2 separate regions of the Homo sapiens genome follow, and region 2 is linked to region 1. Evidence: promoter capture Hi-C in 16 types of primary human blood cells and fetal thymus (Javierre and others, 2016). All regions are on one chromosome and are shown on one strand. Each heading gives the region's core, a stretch centred on a gene start or on the middle of the fragment in contact. The rest is flanking DNA. Distances are from core to core; before and after follow the strand shown. Region 1 holds the start of BRD4 (bromodomain containing 4). Region 2 has its middle 23 kb from the start of MIR6795.

The links. The method cuts DNA at HindIII sites, captures the fragments that hold promoters and counts their contacts. A CHiCAGO score of 5 or more calls a contact.
Region 2: a fragment that was not itself captured here is called in contact with the fragment with the promoter of BRD4 in region 1 in 1 of 17 cell types (M2 macrophages); the score reaches 5.2 in M2 macrophages.

What each region holds. Positions count from the first base shown.
Region 1 is chr19:15,330,982-15,334,011 of GRCh38, forward strand. It overlaps BRD4 (bromodomain containing 4), which reads right to left and starts at 1,558. Exons shown (of 20, transcript NM_001379291.1): 1 at 1,309-1,558. LOC124904643 (a long non-coding RNA gene) reads left to right here and starts at 1,632. Exons shown (of 4, transcript XR_007067146.1): 1 at 1,632-1,667. RefSeq lists silencers at 558-607, 618-767, 798-897, 1,098-1,327, 1,558-1,657 and 1 more and an enhancer at 1,824-2,440. The HindIII fragment of the contact is 24,183 bases long and covers 1-3,030 here.
Region 2 is chr19:15,154,641-15,157,670 of GRCh38, forward strand. No RefSeq gene overlaps it. Among named protein-coding and RNA genes, the nearest start is that of MIR6795, 23 kb to the right of the region's middle. The HindIII fragment of the contact is 3,609 bases long and covers 1-3,030 here.

The sequences.
Region 1 (3,030 bases), core at 308-2,807:
TTTGGAACCACGGACTGGTAGAGCCCTGTCGAAGGTAAGCAAAGACATTCCAATTCTCGTGAGGCATACATTCCAAGGGGTCACTAGCATCCAACACACACGCAGAGAAATGAACCCAAGACCAGACACCCCACCAGGCTGCACGAAACGTAAACAAGTAAACAAGCAAATAAAAATCTTAAAAAAACAAAGCGTAGTCTTGAGTAAAAGGGAGGTCAGCCACCCAGGAGAAGCACATGACTCATGCACCGGCCTGAACTAAAGTATTTACACCGTCCACTACAACAGAGTGGGGTTTCCCATCTTCAAGCAAACCCAAGCCTTGGGGGCATCTCAGCCGAGTGAAGCCATGCTATTTCCGTTTGGGAGGAGGGGGATCATTTTATTTCGCTGAATCACAACTCCCCCACATCCCCACCCCAAATCACCACAATCACCACCACCACACAACACTGCAAATAAAATAGGCCGTTGCAAGGACGCCGGCGAGCACGGACCGAGCAAAACAAAGCGCCCAGCAAGGGGCTGCCAGGCTGAGAGTGGGTGCGTCAAGCGGGCCAAGCTCGCCTCCAGGGCACCGCTCCCGCCCTGAGGCCTGGCCTCAGACCGGCGTGCAGCCGCAGCCACCTCCCTCCGCAGGGGACCTGCCCCTTTCTCCGCAGCACTCCGGGGACCGCCGGGAAGGTGAAGAGATGGGGGTGGGGGCGCGCTGCCCCGGCCCAGGCAAAACGACCTGGGTGCCAGAAGGAGAGCGCGCCGGCCCCGGCCCACGTGAGCGCCGCGGCCGAGCCCGCCTAGAGGACCGCGGACCGGGACAGCTGCGCTCGCGGCCCCCGCGCCAGGCCGGGACTTACCCGGGCCGGGCGCGCCGCGGACCCCGCGGCGGCCGCTTCCTCCTCCTCCTCCTCCTCCTCACTTAACAAAATGGCGGCGGCAGGAAGTGCCGGGCGCCTCGGCCCGCCCCCCGCCCGCCCCCGACCGCCGGCCCCGCCGCGGCGCCCGCGCCCCCCACCCGCGCCCCGCCGGCCAGCCCAAGCCCGGGTCCGACGGCACCAAAGGCAGGACAGCCGCGAGCGACCCCGCCGCCCCGACACCAACGGCGCAGGCCGCCCCGGCCCGGAACGAACGGCGCGGGAGGCCCGCAGGCCCGAGCCCGCGTAGCCCCGGCCTCCCCGCCCCCGCGCCGCGCGGATGGCGTAGGTGGCGGCGCCCCGGCCCCATTACGCAATGCAGGTTACGCGGACCGCGCCGCGAGCCTCCGCCAGCCGCCCAGTGTCGTCCGCCGCCCCAAAGGGCACCAGTCCTCACCTGAGACGCTAGGCCGCACGCCGCCCCCGCCGGCCGTCCGCCCGCTGCCGCCGCCCCCTCCCCGAGCTGCCTGCGCGGCGCCGGGGCCCGCCCGCCGCTCTGCCGAGCTCACAGGCCGCGCTCGCCCGCGGGCACCGCCGGCAGCCGCCGCAGCCGCTGCCGCCGCCACTGCTTCGGCTCCTCGGCTGCGGGAGACCAGAACAAACAGCCCAGCCGCCGCCGCCGCCGCCGCCGCCGCCGCCAGCGCACTGACGTCACCGCGCACGCTGCGCGCGCGGCCCCGCGCCGCCGCCGCCCGGTGTGCGCGCCCCGCCCCCGCGCCCAGCGCGAACGAGCTCTGGAGAGACAGTGGCTGCGAGGTGAGTGGGGGATACCGCGGACTGAGGGAGGAGACCCCGCAGAGCGAAGGAGCGGGCTGGGGGAAACGGGCGGACTGCAGGCTGGGCCTGCGGGAAAAGATCTGAAGGCTGAGAGAGACATCCAAAATACTAAGAAAGGTCTGAAGACAGACCCTCACAGGGAGGGAGGATGGTGAGGAGGGACCCCACAGACTGATGGAGGAGGCGGAGGAGAGAGCCCTAAGGGGGGACCCCAGGTAGGGAGGCTGAGGCGAGAGAGCTGCGATGGGGGCGCCGGGGCTGGGGTGAAGTGGAGGAAAGGAGGTGAGAGGAGGCTGCGAGCAAGGCCGAGGCGGATCCTCCTTGGCTGCCCCTGGGCAGGGAGGTAGCACCTTTCTCCTCTTATGCCCCCCTGTTGATCTTCTTCCAACCCACCTTTTTAAAAAAAGGGACATGGTCTTGCTCTGTCCCCCAGGCTGGAGTGCAGTAGTGCAGTCATAGCTCACTGCAGCCTCAACCTGCTGGCCTCAAGCGATCCTCCTGCTTCAGCCTCCCAAGTAGCTGGGACTACAGGTGTGCACCACCACACCCAGCTAACTATTTTTTGTAGAGATGGGATCTCACGATGTTGGCCAGGCTGGTCTCTGTCTCCTGGACTCAAGCGATCCTCCTGCCTCGACCTCCCAAAGTGCTAGTATTACAGGCGTGAGCCACCGCGCCCAGCTCCTTCCCATCCTTAAGACTCAACCCCAAGTCAGACCAGGCTCGGTGGCTCACACCTGTAATCTCAGCACTTTGGGAGGCAGAGGCAGGAGGTTGGCTTGAGGCCAGGGGTTGGAGACCATCCTAGCCAACAGAGTGAAACCTCGCCTCTACTAAAAATACAAAAATTAGCCCCGTGTGGGCCGGGCGCAGTGGCTCACGCCTGTAATCCCAGCACTTTGGGAGGCGGGCAGATCACGAGGTAAGGAGATCGAGACCATCCTGGCTAAGACGGTGAAACCCCGTCTCTACTAAAAATACAAAAAATTAGCCGGGTGTGGTGGTGGGCGCCTGTAGTCCCAGCTACTCGAGAGACTGAGGCAGGAGAATGGCGTGAACCCGGGAGGCGGAGCTTGCTGTGAGCGGAGATCGCGCCCCTGCACTCCAGCCTGTGCGACAGAGCGAGACTCCGTCTCAAAAAAAAAAAAAAAAAATTAGCCGGGTGTGGTGGCGCATGCCTGTAATCCCATGCCTGTAATGCCAGCTACTCAGGAGGCTAAGGCAGAAGAATCACTTGAACCCGGGAGGCGTAGGTTGCAGTGAGCCGAGATTGTGCCACTGCACTCTAGCCTGGGCGACAGAGCAAGGCTCTGTCTCCAAAAAAGAAAAAGACTCAACCCTA
Region 2 (3,030 bases), core at 231-2,730, 180 kb before region 1:
AGCTCCAGATGCATAATCCAACAATCAATCATCAACCAATGTGAGGTGGAATGTCAGAAAAAATGTCAGAGTAAGGACCTCCATAAATTATGTCCTCCATAAAGAATGAAAAAGCTAGAAAAAATTGTTAGACTAAATTTTTGGGAATTCTAGAAATTAACTAAAGTCTTGCAGCAACTCAGAGAAAATGTATTCAGAAAATTACTGAATATCAGTGAGAACAGCATACTCGGCATTTTAACATCTCTGGTCTTCTCCCCCACTCTCCAGCTCCGTGGTCGTCTTGAAAAATACCAGCCCAAACTCTGGTGCAGCCTGGCATCCACCAGAGAGAGCAAAACAGAACTAGAGCACTTTCAAGCCTCATTCCCAAAGAATTGTCATTATTTTTTAAATTTTATTTATTTATTTATTTATTTATTGAGATGGAGTCTCTCTCTCTCTGTCGCCCAGGCTGGAGTGCGGTGGTGCAATCTCAGCTCACTGCAACCTCCGCCTCCCAGGTTCAAGCAATTCTCCTGCCTCAGCCTCCCAAGTAGCTGGAATTACAGGCATGCACCACCACGCCTGGCTAATTTTTGTATTTTTAGTAGAGACAGCGTTTTACCATGTTGGCCAAGCTGGTCTCAAACTCCCGACCTCAAATGATCTGCCCACCTCGGCCTCCCGAAGTGCTGGGATTACAGGTGTGAGCCACCACACCCGGCCAAGAATTGTCATTATTTACCAAGCTAATGGTTCCCTGCAAGATCCCACTGGCAAAGCTCTCTGTATTTGACCTGGCTCTGAGATAAACCATGCAAAAAGCCTTCACTCTGGGGGTCCTTTGTTGACAACAGCTACAGGAAGGTATTTTAGCTTCATGGATGCCTGAGGCAGTGAGTGACAGTTGAGACAAATAGACTAAACCAAAAGCTAGGGAAGGAGCTGTCTATAGAGGCTTTGAAAGGCTCAGATAAGGCTGGGTGCAGTGGCTTATGCCTGTAATCCCGGCACATTGGCAGGCCAAGGAGGGTGGATCACGAGGTCAGTAGTTCAAGACCAGCCTGCCAACATGGTGACCCTGTCTCTACTTAAAAATACAAAAATTAGGCCAGGCTCAGTGGCTCATGCCTGTAATCCCAGCACTTTGGGAGGCTAAGGCAGGCAGATCACCTGAGGTCGGGAGTTCGAGACCAGGCTGACCAACATGAAGAAACCCCATCTCTACTAAAAATACAAAAATTAGCCAGGCGTAGTGGTGCATGCCTGTAATCCCAGCTACTCAGGAGGTTAAGGCAGGAGAATTGCTTGAACCCAGGAAGCGGAGGTTGCAGTGAGCCAAGATCACGCCATTGCATTCCAGCCTGGGCAACAAGAGTGAAACTCCATCTCAAAAAAAAAAAAAAAAAAAAAGAGAAGAGGCCGGGCACAGTGGCTCACGCCTGTAATCCCAGCACTTTGGGAGGCCAAGGCGGGCGGATCACGAGGTCAGGAGATCGAGACCATCCTGGCTAACATGGTGAAACCCCATCTCTACTAAAAATACAAAAAATTAGCCAGGCGCGGTGGTGGACGCCTGTAGTCCCAGCCACTTGGGAGGCTGAGGCAGGAGAATGGCATGAACCCGGGAGGCAGAGTTTGCAGTGAGCCGAGATCTCGCCACTCCACTCCAGCCTGGGAAATAGAGCAAAACTCCGTCTCAAAAAAAAAAGAAGAAGAAAGATTGGTAGATGGATGGAGAGAAAGATATATAAATGATAGATGATAGAAAAATAGAAAGATTCATAGATATAAATAGACAACAGAGGACAGAGAAGCATAAGATAGATATAGACGGATGAAAGATAAACGATAGATGATAGACATAGATAGATAATAAATAAATGATTGACATTCTAGACAGATGAGGCATGCGCAGAATGTAGGCAAGGAATGTTACTATACCTTGGGGCTCACAATGGTGGAGAGCCTTTATCGCTTCTATGCCAAAAGGGCCAAGCAGAGGAAACAATAACCCAGACCCACAGAGGGTAGGTAGCTGGAGGGAGAGCACTGCAGGTACCCTGCAGGCAGGGAGCCAGGGAGACAAATACATTCCACCCTCTAATCCCTCACCTGTGTCTCTCATTGGCCAAACCCAAGTGGAAGCCAGAGAGTAAGGAAACCCATTGATGCCATCTACCTGGGTCATTCTCCCAGAGCACAGAGAAGAGTTGAGGAAGATCAGTGCAGATCTGGAGGCAAAAAGCAGACACTCAGCTGTTTTATCATTGTCCTTTCAGTCAAAAAACCAACTAGGATGTCAATTCCAAAGTCCCCAACCCTTCCCAACTTCAGCATGCCAATGAAATCACATACATATGAATCCTTGAATCTCATTAGTTAATTTTCCTCCATCACCAGTGCAGGCTTCCTAGTCCTCAACCTAACATCCTTTCTGCAATCATTCCAGGGAGCTCCCAGTGTGGGTGAGTCTCACATGTGCTTACAAATAAGTCAGCTCCACCAGGTACGAAAGTGGGTTCCCGCTGTGGGACACTCTTCTTCAATATTCTGTTGACATGAAGCCAAGGTTGCATGATAGAGTGGACAAAATGGGTAGGGAGAAGGACTTTCTCCTCATTTGTACAGCACTTGGGAAGAAGAATACCCAAACTTGCTTAAGCCCCAGTAGATATTTTATTTTTTATTCCCAAGAATCTACTCATGCATAAAGCTAAGATGGACTTCTCTTGGGCCAATGATTCAAGTGCAAGGAATTTATTCGCAAGATCATTCCAGAAAGCTCTAGTAGGAGTGAGGAAGAGTAGGTTGCTGCTGTGGGCAACTGGGGCTTAATCCCAAAGAGCATCCTTTGGGAGACTCTGTGGATCATATCCATGAATTCCCACAGAGAGTGGCGAGGAAGCTGGGGTATTTATCCACCATCTCTCATTCATCCCTCATATGTTGAGGGTTGCTCCTGCCCCACACAAGAGAAAGTTCCCAGGTGGAGAGTCTCAGGTGTTCAGTCAGATGCTGTCAGCAAGCACTAGAATGGTAAGTTCC